5 separate regions of the Homo sapiens genome follow, and all the other regions are linked to region 2. The links are contacts of gene promoters, found by promoter capture Hi-C in blood cells and fetal thymus (Javierre and others, 2016). All regions are on one chromosome and are shown on one strand. The core of a region is centred on a gene start or on the middle of the fragment in contact, and the rest is flanking DNA. Distances in the headings are between cores, read along the strand shown. Region 1 overlaps OR10K2 (olfactory receptor family 10 subfamily K member 2). Region 2 holds the start of CD1A (CD1a molecule). Region 3 has its middle 29 kb from the start of OR10R2. Region 4 overlaps LOC107985213 (a long non-coding RNA gene). Region 5 has its middle 11 kb from the start of OR10K2.

Evidence for each region. Contacts are between HindIII fragments. The CHiCAGO score rates a contact against its expected background, and 5 or more counts as called.
Region 1: a contact is called between a fragment that was not itself captured here and the fragment with the promoter of CD1A in region 2, in 1 of 17 cell types (fetal thymus). The highest score is 5.3, in fetal thymus.
Region 3: a fragment that was not itself captured here is called in contact with the fragment with the promoter of CD1A in region 2 in 1 of 17 cell types (fetal thymus); the score reaches 10.7 in fetal thymus.
Region 4: a contact is called between a fragment that was not itself captured here and the fragment with the promoter of CD1A in region 2, in 2 of 17 cell types (fetal thymus and M2 macrophages). The highest score is 17.7, in fetal thymus.
Region 5: a contact is called between a fragment that was not itself captured here and the fragment with the promoter of CD1A in region 2, in 1 of 17 cell types (fetal thymus). The highest score is 5.7, in fetal thymus.

What each region holds. Positions count from the first base shown.
Region 1 is chr1:158,416,416-158,419,115 of GRCh38, forward strand. OR10K2 (olfactory receptor family 10 subfamily K member 2) reads right to left here. Exons shown (of 2, transcript NM_001004476.2): 2 at 1,795-2,700. Among named protein-coding and RNA genes, the nearest start is that of OR10K2, 8.5 kb to the right of the region's middle. The HindIII fragment of the contact is 1,425 bases long and covers 676-2,100 here.
Region 2 is chr1:158,253,032-158,255,731 of GRCh38, forward strand. CD1A (CD1a molecule) reads left to right here and starts at 1,393. Exons shown (of 6, transcript NM_001763.3): 1 at 1,393-1,696; 2 at 2,053-2,319. The coding sequence starts at 1,639. The HindIII fragment of the contact is 5,152 bases long and covers 1-2,700 here.
Region 3 is chr1:158,499,698-158,502,397 of GRCh38, forward strand. No RefSeq gene overlaps it. Among named protein-coding and RNA genes, the nearest start is that of OR10R2, 29 kb to the left of the region's middle. The HindIII fragment of the contact is 6,418 bases long and covers 1-2,700 here.
Region 4 is chr1:158,482,929-158,485,628 of GRCh38, forward strand. The region is part of intron 2 of LOC107985213 (a long non-coding RNA gene); the gene reads right to left. Among named protein-coding and RNA genes, the nearest start is that of OR10R2, 12 kb to the left of the region's middle. The HindIII fragment of the contact is 1,988 bases long and covers 385-2,372 here.
Region 5 is chr1:158,436,003-158,438,702 of GRCh38, forward strand. No RefSeq gene overlaps it. Among named protein-coding and RNA genes, the nearest start is that of OR10K2, 11 kb to the left of the region's middle. The HindIII fragment of the contact is 1,285 bases long and covers 666-1,950 here.

The DNA of each region.
Region 1 (2,700 bases), core at 138-2,637, 160 kb after region 2:
ATAGATCACTTAATCAACTGTCAGGCCACTCCCACTCCTGGAAGGTTCTAGCATTGGACCTCCAAGGTTTCTTCTCTGAACTCCTGGTTTCTATTAACACCACATTTTCTCCATCCATTGCAAGTCTAAGCAGAGTAGCCATTTTCCTTAATTATACAAATGTGTTGCCCTAGCATCCCTTTTTGCTTTTACAAATTTTCACATTCGTGTAAGCAATTCCCTATATTAAACCAGTTCTGTTTGAAATAATTGCCATTACTTTTGTTTTATTGGCTTACCCTTGAGAGTTAGAGCCTCGGACATAACAGAATATAACATTGAATATTGAGTGTGGGTAAGCACTTTAGACTTCCATGATATGTGGGAGAAACGGAATGCTCAGCATAAGATGGAGTGAGTAACGGAAGTGGTACTCTGGTAGAGATTCAGGATTGGCACATGTTCTCACAAGTGGGAGCTAAACAGTGGGTACGCATGGACATAAAGATGGAAATGGCAGACACTGAGGACCCCAAATGAGGGAGGGTGAGAGGGAGGTTAGTGCTGAAAAATTATCTATCGGGTACAATGTTCACTGTTTGGGTGATGAGTACACTAGAAGCCCAAACCTCAGCATCACACAATATATCTATATAACAAACCTGCACATGTGCCTGTTGAATCTATTTTAAAAAAAGCTTTTGGTTTGAGGAAGAGAAAGTAGGATCAATTGAAGGAGTAGGAGGCTGGCAATCTAGGGGAGAGATTTGGGAAGAGATATCTAAAGGTGATAGTTGGAGTGGAATGTGATTCTTCGCTAAATGTTTTTTTGAAAATAAAAATTTACCTGAGGGGTTGGATATTGGTTTATATGGGGCACTGAAAACAGCTATTATGTGGGTTGCCTTCTGTTAGTGTAAATGTGTACTTGTCCTGGCACTTGGTGAGAGCTGTCTTATGATTTCAATTGTCATCGATCTGTTCAATGTTAAAGGATGTCTTAGAAAATCAGTCCAAAGCCAGCCTCATAGGCTACAAATCTAGTTTTAGTGCTATTATAATTTTTTGTGGCCAAGGTAACAGAAATTCCATAATCCTAACTTGGTATAACCTTTTCTTTTCCCTATAATGTATTCAAAAACATATATACATAATAGACTATGATGAATGGGAATTCAAAACATCAATTTATTATTATTGGTTGAGTTTATGCTTAAAATTCAAGTGCAGATTTCTCTGTAAGCTAAACAGGCATATGTGGCCTAGTTAGAAGGCCTAAGGGACTTTACTCTCTTGCTAAGGCCAACTACAAATCTAAAAATCTTACCCCTCTCCTGCAAATTACATATGACTGGACAATAGAGATATGTGTGTATGCACATGTGTGAAAAGAGGAACAGAGAGAGCAAGATGTTCAGTTTTAACACATGGGAGTGCAGGCCAATGTCAACTTAATTTTTCATTCACATGGAAAAAATAAGAGGAAGGATAAAATGCCAGGAGAGTCATTTTTTATATTCATGACCTTTTAACACAAAGTGGTCCTGCCCACTTGTCAGTGTTGTGGTGTCAGACACCAAAATAATAGTATCCACAGCTCTTGGAAAGAAACAAGGTTTAAAAGACTATTTAACATCAAGAGTATATCTTCCCACAGATGACCCATGGCTTAATCTTCTATTGTTAAAGGTGAATACTTACACATTCTACTCCATTAATTAAAAAAATCACAGTCTTTTCAAGAGGTCATGTGAGAGCATTATAAAAGCATTAATAAAGAAAATATATCGTGTGGACTCAGTATTAATTCTTTTACTCATTAGTAGGCAAGTCATTTTATTTGTCTGAGTGTCATTTTTCTCATCTACAAAATGTCGATTATAATATATACTTCCCAGTGTGCTCTAAAGTTTAGATGAAGTAACATTGTTAAACTGTAGCACACAATGCAGCTATAAATAATTAACACATTAAACTTAGCTCATTTACTTTTCATGAATCAACTTGATATGCTAGAGGCCTGGGGTGGGCAATATGGCCAAGGAAAAGACAACTTGGGGGCCACTGAAATTAATTTTGCATCAATCTCTGATTTTCAACCCCCATCAGCAGCAAGTTTCAAGCTTCAAAGAAATGGAAGAAATGCAATTGACTTACATTCTTGGCAGATGTCCTACAATAAACAGGGCCTGTGAACAAAACATTCCACTTCCTTCCCTCCCGCTTCAACCCCTAAAAGGTATATGTCATTGATGAACAGACTGGTGGAAGAAAAGGAAAAAACTTAGAAACAAAATTAATCAATCAGGAGACTTTTATTGACAGGTGGATCTTGAAAAGAGTTATAATGTGAGAAATCATCACTATTGTGAAACTTCCTTTTTGCTATCACTCCTGCAGAAAGGACAGAGAATGAAAACATCAAATTCAAGTTCTGGTCTCAAATGTACATGCAAACTCTTGAGTTGCATGGAGAACAGATTGATTGTTCCATATGCAAAGCTTTCCACTTGGTGAATATTTAGTGAAATTGACTTAATCTTTAGCTTGCCTTGCCTGGTCATTTAGGGTGATTTTAGGTCTTGTCATTAATCCATTCCCCTGTGAATATCTTCAGGGTATGCTGACCAAATTTAGATGTATGCCTCTGCATACAAAATTAGAAATGATCGTATTTCATTAATACACTAGAAGCATGGAAATGGATAACTTTTCATAATT
Region 2 (2,700 bases), core at 143-2,642:
GGTTACAGTGAGCTATGATTATTCCACTGCACTCCAGCCTGAGTAACAGAGTGAAACCCTGTCTCAAGAAAAAAAATTTTTTCCCCCTAAATTAGCTTCAGATACTTTTTTTTTGAAAACCAAAAAATAGTAAATAGCCCAGACACATTTATATGGATGATATCTACAAAGCACAAACATATATTTAGAAGCCCTTCAACAGTTACAAGCAGCGTAAAAGAGGAATGTAAATGTGTCCGGCAAAGACTCATTTATAACAAAACAACCCTGAAACATCCAAATAGGACTAATAAAAAGGGATCCTGGGATAAAGACTTTGGAATACTCCATTAACTTCACTGCTCACAAGTTCTGACTAGTTTCTTATAAGTAATAGGACATTTATAGCAGGATCTTTTATGTAAATCTCATGCCAGTAACTTGTACTTTTATCCTAAATAAAACTGTATGAGATTCTCATCTCACTACATAGGGTTACAAGTAACTTTTATGATATCTTTAAAAAGTTTCATGTTGAATATCACCTCCATAATTAAAAAATGGATGCATAGACTGAATTCATTCATTCATTTGACAAATATTCACTAAGCACCTACCACTTGTGAGATACTCTGTTAGGTGGGGATACAGTATGATAACTGTATGGAACTAACACTCCAAGTCAAACATTGAAGTCAAAATTCTGGGCTGGCGTACATTAGTTAGGAGCCCCCATTTTAGAAAATATTATTTCAAGCAGGCCTTGTTTTTATCCAGAGAGTGTATACAGTATAATAAAACTCAGTACACCAAGATTTATATTTCATGGCGTGTTTTTCTCCCTAAGTAGAGAAAAAGCTCCTTCAGTAAAGTGATTGTGTTGTCAACCACTGCATATTCTTAAGTGTACCAAGATGCTTGACTCCAGGCAGGTGCTAAGAGAGACTGTTGGGTGAGTGAATGTATATCAATGAAAATCAAACAGAGGAAATTTTCTTTATATGTTTTAGTGTTCCTGTGGTTTTTTTTTTTTTTTTTTTTTTTTTTTTTTTTTTTTTTTTTGTGATGGTTACTGGCTCTTCTCTAAGAATAATGGAGAAAAGGTGTTAGTTTGTACTGTCGCACAGGGCAGTCGTAGGAGACTCTGAAAAAGCAAATAAATCAATGTTAAATCAGAAATGTGAATGTAGTAAGGGGCTGAAGAGACAGGGGAAGAGAATACATGGGAAAATATTGAAAAGGACAGAGTGATCAAAAAGAGCAGGGACATGGGAGCATTGGGCAGCACACTGGGAGCCATTTCACTTTATGCTCTTATTGTATGATTGAGAAAAAAATGTCCTTAGTGGTTAAGTGGCTTTTCAATGCCACATCAGACTTGTTCCATAGCAGTTGAATTAGGGGAAGGTGAATAAGTTGGAGGTTGGTGACAAGGAGAGAAGCTGGAACAGAGAGGAGAGTCAGAACCAGAGGGAAATGAGAGACTGAGTAGGCATCTCAGGGTTTTTGAAGGAGTGGATTTTCTTTGTTGCAGTCAGGGGAGGTTTGTCTGTTGGCTGCAGAAAGAAGTCAGAATAGAGATATCGTGGGGTAGGTTTGTTTGGAACAGAAATCAAAGACCAATTTTTCTGAGAGAAGGAAATAACATCTGCAAATGATATGCTGTTTTTGCTACTTCCATTGTTAGCTGTTCTCCCAGGTGATGGCAATGCAGACGGTAAGAACTCTGACAACTGCCCAGTTGGGTGGTGGGTGAAGGTCTCTCTCTCTCTCTCTGTGTGTGTGTGTGTGTGTGTGTGTGTGTGTGTGTGTGTGTGTGTGTGGTTTCCCTAGCATATACCTGGAAAGTGAGAGTGCCAGGCTGGTTCCATTCTGACTATCCATGACTCCAGGTCCCTGAGCTCTTATGAAGGTGGTTGATAAGGCATGGGACTGTGTGGCAAGTGAATGTCTGCTAAGATCATGATGGATCCCCTTTTCTCCAGATTCTGAGTTCCCGCACTCTGGCACCTTTCTCTCTCCATCCTCTTTCTCAATGTCTTTCTCCCCATTCTATCTGTTCTTTTGTCGCAGGGCTCAAGGAGCCTCTCTCCTTCCATGTCACCTGGATCGCATCCTTTTACAACCATTCCTGGAAACAAAATCTGGTCTCAGGTTGGCTGAGTGATTTGCAGACTCATACCTGGGACAGCAATTCCAGCACCATCGTTTTCCTGTGCCCCTGGTCCAGGGGAAACTTCAGCAATGAGGAGTGGAAGGAACTGGAAACATTATTCCGTATACGCACCATTCGGTCATTTGAGGGAATTCGTAGATACGCCCATGAATTGCAGTTTGAATGTGAGTTCAGTTTTCTCCATGGAGAGTGGTGAGGTGGGAGAGAGGGGTTGTCTCAATGTTTCTTATTCCTTTAGGAAACAGCCTGACTCTCTTCTGTATCTTATTCTATTCTTTCCACCATAAAACTGCAATTGCATACTTTTGGGCAAGGGCTATCATCCAGACCTTAATTCTCCAAACACTTCTGCTACTTATGAACTCCTCTCTCATTGATTGCAGGGTTGTGCATTATTATCTTTTCTTACAGGTATCCCAGGACCACCCTTCTGCCTGCCCTACAACCAGATACCTTCAGCTTTCTCACTTTCTCATTCATTCTCTTCAGCAGTCTCTCTATATATACTCAATTGTAACCCATTGCATTTAATTCAACCTAAGTTG
Region 3 (2,700 bases), core at 79-2,578, 250 kb after region 2:
AATGCCTTCTGGATTCTGCCCTCTTAGTCCTCATGGGAAGCCATCCATAAGGAAGAGCTATACTTTAGAACTTGCTGGAAAACCACTCTCTGAAGTACTCTGTGGGTGGGGGGCATCTATGGGAGGATGCTTCTGTTTGCAACCTTCTGGCAAAATACCTTTGATGATGGTACTGCCTGGGAAGTAGCACTACTGGGCGTCCTACTTGTTACTAGACTTCACACACACAGCATGTCCAGGCAGATGAAAGCAGCCAGAAATGGGAAGAGAACTCCGTTTTAACTTCAGTGTCCCTTCACGCCTTCTACAGAAGAGCTTAACATCATGTCTGCTGGTAAAGGAGAAACATTCCAGTAACACAATCAGGACAAGTAAAGGTAGATTTGGAGCTAAAAGGCAATTACATTCTTAATTTTCTTTCTTTTTAAAATTTTGACAGAATTTAGATTTATTCATCCCTATGAGCCCTAGAATTATGTTAATGTCAGGAGATGTTTATAAAATATACTCCACTAAAATTTTTCTGAAAATTCTAACAAGGACATTTGAAACAAGGGTTACATAGGTCAATTACAATTTCACTCAGAAAAAACAATAGCACTCTTGATTTATTCAGTAGTTGTTTTTTAATATAGCATGAGTCACAAATAAGCTAGTTTTTCAACTAGGTCAACACTGACTTTTTTTGTGTGTGATAAGAACATTTAACATGAATCCACCCCCTGATCAAAAGGTATTGGTAACTGTAATCATATATTATGCCATTCTTGCATTGCTATAAAGAAATACCTGAGATTGGGTAATTTATAAAGAAAAGTGGTTTTGTTGGCTCATGATTTGCAGAATTTACAGGAAGCATGGTGCTGGCATCCACTTGGCTTCTGGTGAAGGCTCAGGGAACTTTCAATCATGGTGGAAGGTGAAGCAGGAGCGGGCACATCACATGACCAGAACAGGAGAGAGAGAGTTGGGGGAAGGTGCTGCAAATTTTGAAATGGCAAGATCTTGTGAGAACTTACTCACTATCATAAAAATAGACCAAGTCATGCGAAGTTCACCCCCATGACCGAAACACCTCCCACCTTCAGCACTGGTGATTACAATTCAACGTAAGATTTGTGTGGGGACAAATATCCAAACTATATCAATATTTCTCCGGCTCCTCCCAAATCTATGTCCTTCTCACATTGCAAAATATATTTATGCCTTCCTAAGAGTCCTCCAAAGTTTTAACTTGTTCCAGTGTTAACTCACAAGTCCGAAGTCCAGAGTCTCATCTTTGACAAGGAAAGTCCCTTTCATTCATGAACCTATAAAATCAAAACCAAGTTATTTACTTCCAAGATACAATAGGGATACAGGTATTGGGTAAACGTTGCTATCCTAAAAGAAAGAAATTGGCCAAAAAAATAGGGGCTATAGGCCCCAAGCAAGTCCTAAAGCCAGGAGGGCAGTCATTAAATCTTAAAGCTCCAAAATAATATCCTTTGACTCCATATTCTACATCCAGGTCACACTGCTGCAAGCTCCTCAGAGAGGTGTCAGTCATGGCTCTCAAGGCTTAGGGCAGCTGTATCCCTATGGCTTTGCAGGGTTGAATACCCATGGCTGTTTCCACGGGTTGGTGTTGAGTGTTCTTGGCTTTTCCAGGTGCAGAGGGCAAGCTGACAGTGGATCTTCCTTTCTGGGGTCTGGAGGATGGCGGTCCCCTTCTCACAGCTCCACTAGGCAGTGCCCCAGTGGGAACTCTGGGGCGGGGGGCAAACCCACATTTCCCCTCTGCATTGCCATAGTAGAGGTTCCCTGTGGGGTTCCCCACCCCTGCAGCAGGCCTCTGTCTGGGCACTCAGGCTTTTCCATATGTCCTCTGAAATCTAGGCAGATGGTGCAAATTCTCATTCACTCTGAACTCTGTGTGCCTACAGGCTTAAAATCATGTGCAAATTGCCAAGGCTTACAGTGGCTTGAACTCTCCAAAGTAGCATGTTGAGCAGTACCTGGGCCCCTTTGAGCCCCAGTTGAAGCTGGAGCAGCAGGATGCAGGGAGCAGTGTCATGAAGCTGTGTGTGTGGCAGTAGGGATTCTGGGCCTTTAATGGAAGGGGCTGCCACAGAGGTCTCTGAGATGCCTTCAAGGCTTTTCCCCCATTGTCTTGACTATCAGCACTTGGCTCCTTCATAGGTATGCAAATTTCTTTTTTTTTCTTTTTTTTTTTTTTTTTTTGAGATGGAGTCTTGCTCTGTCACCCAGGCTGGAGTGCAGTGGCATGATCTCGGCTCACTGCAAGCTATGCCTCCCAGGTTCACGCCATTCTCCCGCCTCAGCCAGAGTAGCTGGGACTACAGGCGCCCACCACCGCACCCAGCTAATTTTTTTTTTGTATTTTTAGTAGAGATGGGGTTTCACCATGTTAGCCAGGACAGTCTCGATCTACTGACCTTGTGATCCGTCCACCTCAGCCTCCCAAAGTGCTGGGATTACAGGCGTGAGCCACCACGCCTGACCCACTTAAGTATGCAAATTTCTTTAGTAAAGTGGTTGTTCCACAACCTGCTTGAATTCTTCTCCCCTCAAGAGCTTTTTCTTCCTTTGCCACATTGCCAGGCTGCAGATTTCTCAAACTTTTATTCTCTACTTTCCTTTTAAATATAAGTTTCAGCTTTAAGGTATTCCTTTGTGCCCACATCTGAGTTAGGTTGT
Region 4 (2,700 bases), core at 129-2,628, 230 kb after region 2:
TATTAGTAGAAACAAGAAAGAGTTAAAATTATGTTTAAAAGATATTATAATAATAAACAGTAGAATAATACTTCTACAGGAAAATAATTTGCAGTGACAAAATGGCCTTGTTTGCCATCATCATACTATAGCCATCATTAATTAAAAAGGCAGTAGAAGATAAACATAAATTTGCCATTCTGTGCACCACATTTCTTTACTTACAGCTTATAAAGTGGGATCCTATGGAGAATGGTCCTGTACCGGCCTAAGAATCAAAAAAGGTCTTATTTGAAAAGATTATCTCCTTCTTTGTCCAATGTCTACCATCAAAGTTTTTTTTATTTTCACCTGTTTCATGAAGTATTACCTGATTTCCATTCTTCAAAACACCATAGCATTGTAAGCTTTACTTATACTTCTTACTGAGCTCTGACATATTGAGCTGATTATGTACATATCTTATTTTCTCTAATGGACAATCAACAACGTGAAAGGAAGTAATTTATTATACCGATACATTAACTCCTCCTAAATGTCTTTTATATCCCTGACATTCAGGAGATAACTAATACATGTCTCTTAACTTTAATTGAATAAATGACTTCTTGGTCTAGCTAAGAAAAACATCTGAAACTACATGTGAAAGTGTAGCAATATTTATGTCCCCCATAACAGTAATTAAAAATAACAATGACAATGATAATTTATTTTGCTCATTAATCTCTTAAATGGGAGAGGGCTTATAAGATTGGCTTGTCTTAACTCCATACAATGTCAACTGAGCTGCTCAACTAGAATTGAGGGACCCACTTCCATTTGGCTCATTTACACGGCTGGCAAAATGATGCTGATTTGTAGTGGAGCTGAGTCAGGGCTATAGGTTGTGAGAGTCAGTATCTCTCCATGTGGCCCTTTTCATGGGGTTCTATAAACTTTCTCACAACATCATGACTGGTTTCAAAGACTAAACATTCCAAGAAACAGAAAGAGGAAGCTGCTAGTCTTTTAAGGCATAATACCAGCAGGTTGTCTGCTCCTGACACCCAAAAAGACAATGATGTGATGGGCATAGGAATAGCAATGGACATTCCCTTGTGAAAAAGGAGGAAATTAGACACATCACAGTCATTGGTCCATAGAAATTCTGAAATTCATCTGGACACTGTTGCCAGTCCTATTTTCTGGGAATGAATTCCATGACTCTTAGATCTAACCTGTGATGCCATTTCCCCACTTTCTGATCATCCTTTTTTATCTGCAAGACATAGCTACAATTTGCAGACATGTCATTTCTTAGTCTGATACCTCCATGGAAGAAGTTGAGGGTCCAAAGGTCTATTCATTTCTGTTTGCTCTGTAGCCTTTAGCACATGTTGATAGAATGCCTTTTTAAAACTTGGTGAGTTTCTTATGTTTCAGTTTATAAATTAATTCCATTAGATAAAAGTCACATCCATATTCATTTCTTTATTATGGGTCACTTGTGAGGTAGCAGTATTAATAACTGCTGTATGGCAATTCCCTTAAGATTCTTAAAAAGACTTATTGCTTAACTTTAAGGAGTCAGGCCCTTAGGATATTTATAAATCTTGTTGGGTATAGCCTAAAATATTTCTGAGTTCTAACAAAAAGTATTACAGCTACATTCTTAAGAGGTTTACCCTGAGGCATTGGTTTCCTGATAGCACCTTGGATTTGATTTCTTCCTTGAAGCCATTTTGTACCTTGAGAGTCTTTGTTGAGAGAGACTGTGCATGAGAAACATCTTTATTTGCAAACCCAACAAGTTTTGTTTCTTTCTGTTTCCTCTAAATTCTCAGAAACTTAAGAAACTTTAAAAAATTATGTACTTTTAAATTGACAAATAGTCATTGTTCATATTCCTTAGGTGCATAGTAATATTCTGATATAAATAATGTTATAGGGATCAGATCAAGGTAATTAGCATATCATCATCTCAAACATTTATCATTTCTTCATGTTGGGAATGTTCAACACCCTCCTTCTGGCAATTTGAATCTATACATTACTGTTAACTATAGTCATCCTACAGTAGCAAAGAACACTGTAACTTATTCCTTTATCTAGCTGTAATTTTGTATCCTTTAGCAAATCTCCACCTATCCTTCCCTTTTCTCTACTATTCCCTTCCTCTAGTATCCTGCTGTCTACTCTCTTTTCATATTTTATCATTGGTTGGAATTTTCTATAGTCTTCCTAGAAATTTACCCAGGAAGATAATGAGATTACTAAATAGTCTATTTTCCAGGCTGTAGCATGTGGTCCTGCTGCCAAACTTTAGAGCAATGGATAATAAGTATCCATGTTTTACCTAAGTATGATAACAGTTTCCTCTCTGTCCTTCAAATATTTTTCTCTCTGTGCTTCAAAGCTTTACCAAGAGTTGCCTTATGATCCTTTCACCTTTTAGTAAGAGACTCCTTAAGTCCTTATGGATTATTTATACCACCAATTGCAAAATTAATGCCAAATGTTTTAAATGTTGATTATAACAGCACCCTGCCTTTAGATACCAAATTCTGTTCTCATTATTTACTGCTGCATAATCAACTCTCTACAACTTTAGTTGCTTAAATGAGCTGTAATTATTTTGCACACAAGTCTGCAATTTTGGCAGGGCTCAGTGGGGACAGCTGGAATTTGTTCTTTGTCCCAGCAGGTTGGATGATTCAATTGGGGCTGAAGGATTTACTTTCA
Region 5 (2,700 bases), core at 58-2,557, 180 kb after region 2:
TGGTCATATGTTTGTTTTTCCAGTTTTTGAAATTTATCAGGGTGGAATTACAGAGTATATAAGATTTTTGTTTAGTTTTCTTTCACTTAAATAATGTTTGTGAGATTTACCCATATTAGTAAATATAATAGTAAAATTTCACTGTTGCACAAAAATAAATTATATGAGTGTACTTCAATTTATTTGTTCTACCATTGATGGATATTTAGGTTATTTCCAGGTTTGGGCTATAGTGGAAAGCAGTGCTGGGAACATACTTGTACGCTTTAAGTAACATATCACTCAATTTATTTGGTATCCACTAACAGTGAAACCACTGAGTCACAGCATATTGCTGTAGATTAAATTTTTAGCCACAATTCTTTATTCCTTTCTATGTCATTTGCTATATGACTTTGCAGTTTCTCTTATGAGAGGCAGAATGTAACTTCCTAACCCTAAACTTTGGGCTTTTATGGGATTTATATTAACCAATGAAATGTGGGCAGAAGTCATAGCCAGTTTCAAACCTTGGCCAAAAGAAACATTGCAAGTTTTCTGCCATCACCATGAAAAGAGTTTTTTCCCAAGTAGCTTCTGTTCTTTTAACCTGAGCTCTAGGATGAATATATCTGATGCAAATCTAACCCCAATCTACCAAAAGGAGTCAAACCCAAGTGACATGAAGCTTGAAGGAGAGCCGCTATTCTAAGCCCAGCTTAGATCTCTAAATTGACTTGCAGACACAAAAGCAAATAAAAAAAATTTAAAAATGTGGTTAAAAACCAAATAACGTAAAATTCACCAACTCAACCATTTTAAGTGTAAAGTTCAGTAGTGTCAAGTATATTCCTATTACTGTAAAATAGATCTCCAGAACTTGTTCATCTTGCAAATCAGAAACTCTGCACCTATTAAACAACTTCTCTTTTCCTAAGTGAAATAGAACAGCCACAAAAAGGCAAGCAAGGACTTTAACTTGTGTTTGGAAGTGGTGTGTTACACAGCAAAAGGTAAATAAAAGTATATACATGTTCTAGTATACTATTCTCTGCCAAATAGTTTTTCAAAGTGGCTGTATAAATTTACACTCATGCCAGCATTGTATGGAAATTCCAGTTGCTTCTCATCTGTAACATTTGCTATTGCAACTCATTTTTATTTGAGAAATTCTGATGAGTATGTGTAATTAGACTTTCCTTTTCATGATATTAGTGACATTGAGCACATTTTCATGTTTACCAGCCACCTGAATTTCCTCTTTCTTGAAAGTCTTGTTTGATATTTTGTGCACTATAGGGATATTCATTTTTATTATTGATCCAAAATATTTTATATGATATCAATACTTTATTGATTACATGTACTTCAAATATTTTGTGTGACTTTGTAAATTTCATTTTCACTCAGTTGAAGATGTCTTTTGATGAACATGTTTACCTATTGTTTAGCTGTCACTTATAAGTAAGAACATGTGGTATTTGACTTAGACTTTTGTTCTCTTTGACTTTTTAAACAAAAGATTACTTCTGTACTCTTTGACTTCTTGTATTTTCATATTTCGTATTCCTAGGCATAGTAATTCTTTCTGCTGACATACAGAAATAGAATTTATTTTTGTATTACCAGCTTTGTATAAGGCAATCATGTAAATACATTTCATTTTTAATTCTTATATTTATCTGCCTATTCTCATGTAATTTTGTTTTTGTATCTCTGTACTGTTTATGTATTTATTAAGGTACAATTGACAGAAATTATATATATATATATTTCATATCCAATGTGAAGTTTTGATATACAAATACATTTTTCAATAATTGGTACAATCAAACTAATCAATATACCTGTCACCTCACATAGTTACCTTTTTTTCATGTGTGTGTGGTGAGAATACTTACTGTCAACAACTTTTCAAGTATAAAATACATTATTGACCGTAGTCAACATTCTGTACATTAAAATATCTAAAGCTTATGTATCTTATAACTGAAAGTTCGTAACTTTTGACCAAAATGTTCTCATTTCCCCCACCTCCTTGCCTCTAGCAACCACCCTTCTACTCTGCTCTTATAAGTTTGAATATTTTAGATTCCACATATAAGTTAGATCATGCAGTATTTATCTTTCTTTGCTTGATTTATTGTACTTAGCAAAATGTCCTCTAGGTTCATCCACGTTGTTGTAAATGGCAGAATTTCCTTCTTTTTAAAGGCTGAATGGTATTCTATTGTATAAAAGTATATACCACATCTACTTTAGCCCTTTGTCTATTGAAGGACATTTCATTGTTTCATATCTTAACTATTGTAAATAATGTTGCAATGAACATGGGAATTCCGATCTCTCTTTGAGATAGTGATTTTATTTTCATTGGATATATACTCAGAAGTGGTACTGCTACATCATATGGTGGTTTTATTTTTAATTTTTTGAGGACATTCTATACTGTTTTCTTTAATGGCTATACCAATTTACTTTGCCACTAACAATATACAGGGGTTCCCTTTTTTTTGCATTCTTTCCAACACTTGTTATCTTTTGATTTTTTGACAATAGCCATTCTAACAGGCGTGAGGTAACATATCATTGTGGTCATCTGCATTTCCCTGATTAGTCATGTTGAACACCATTTCATATACCTTTTGGCCATTTGTTTGTCTTCTTTGGAAAAATATGTCTACTCAGATCCTTTAGCCATTTTAAAATGACATTGTTTAT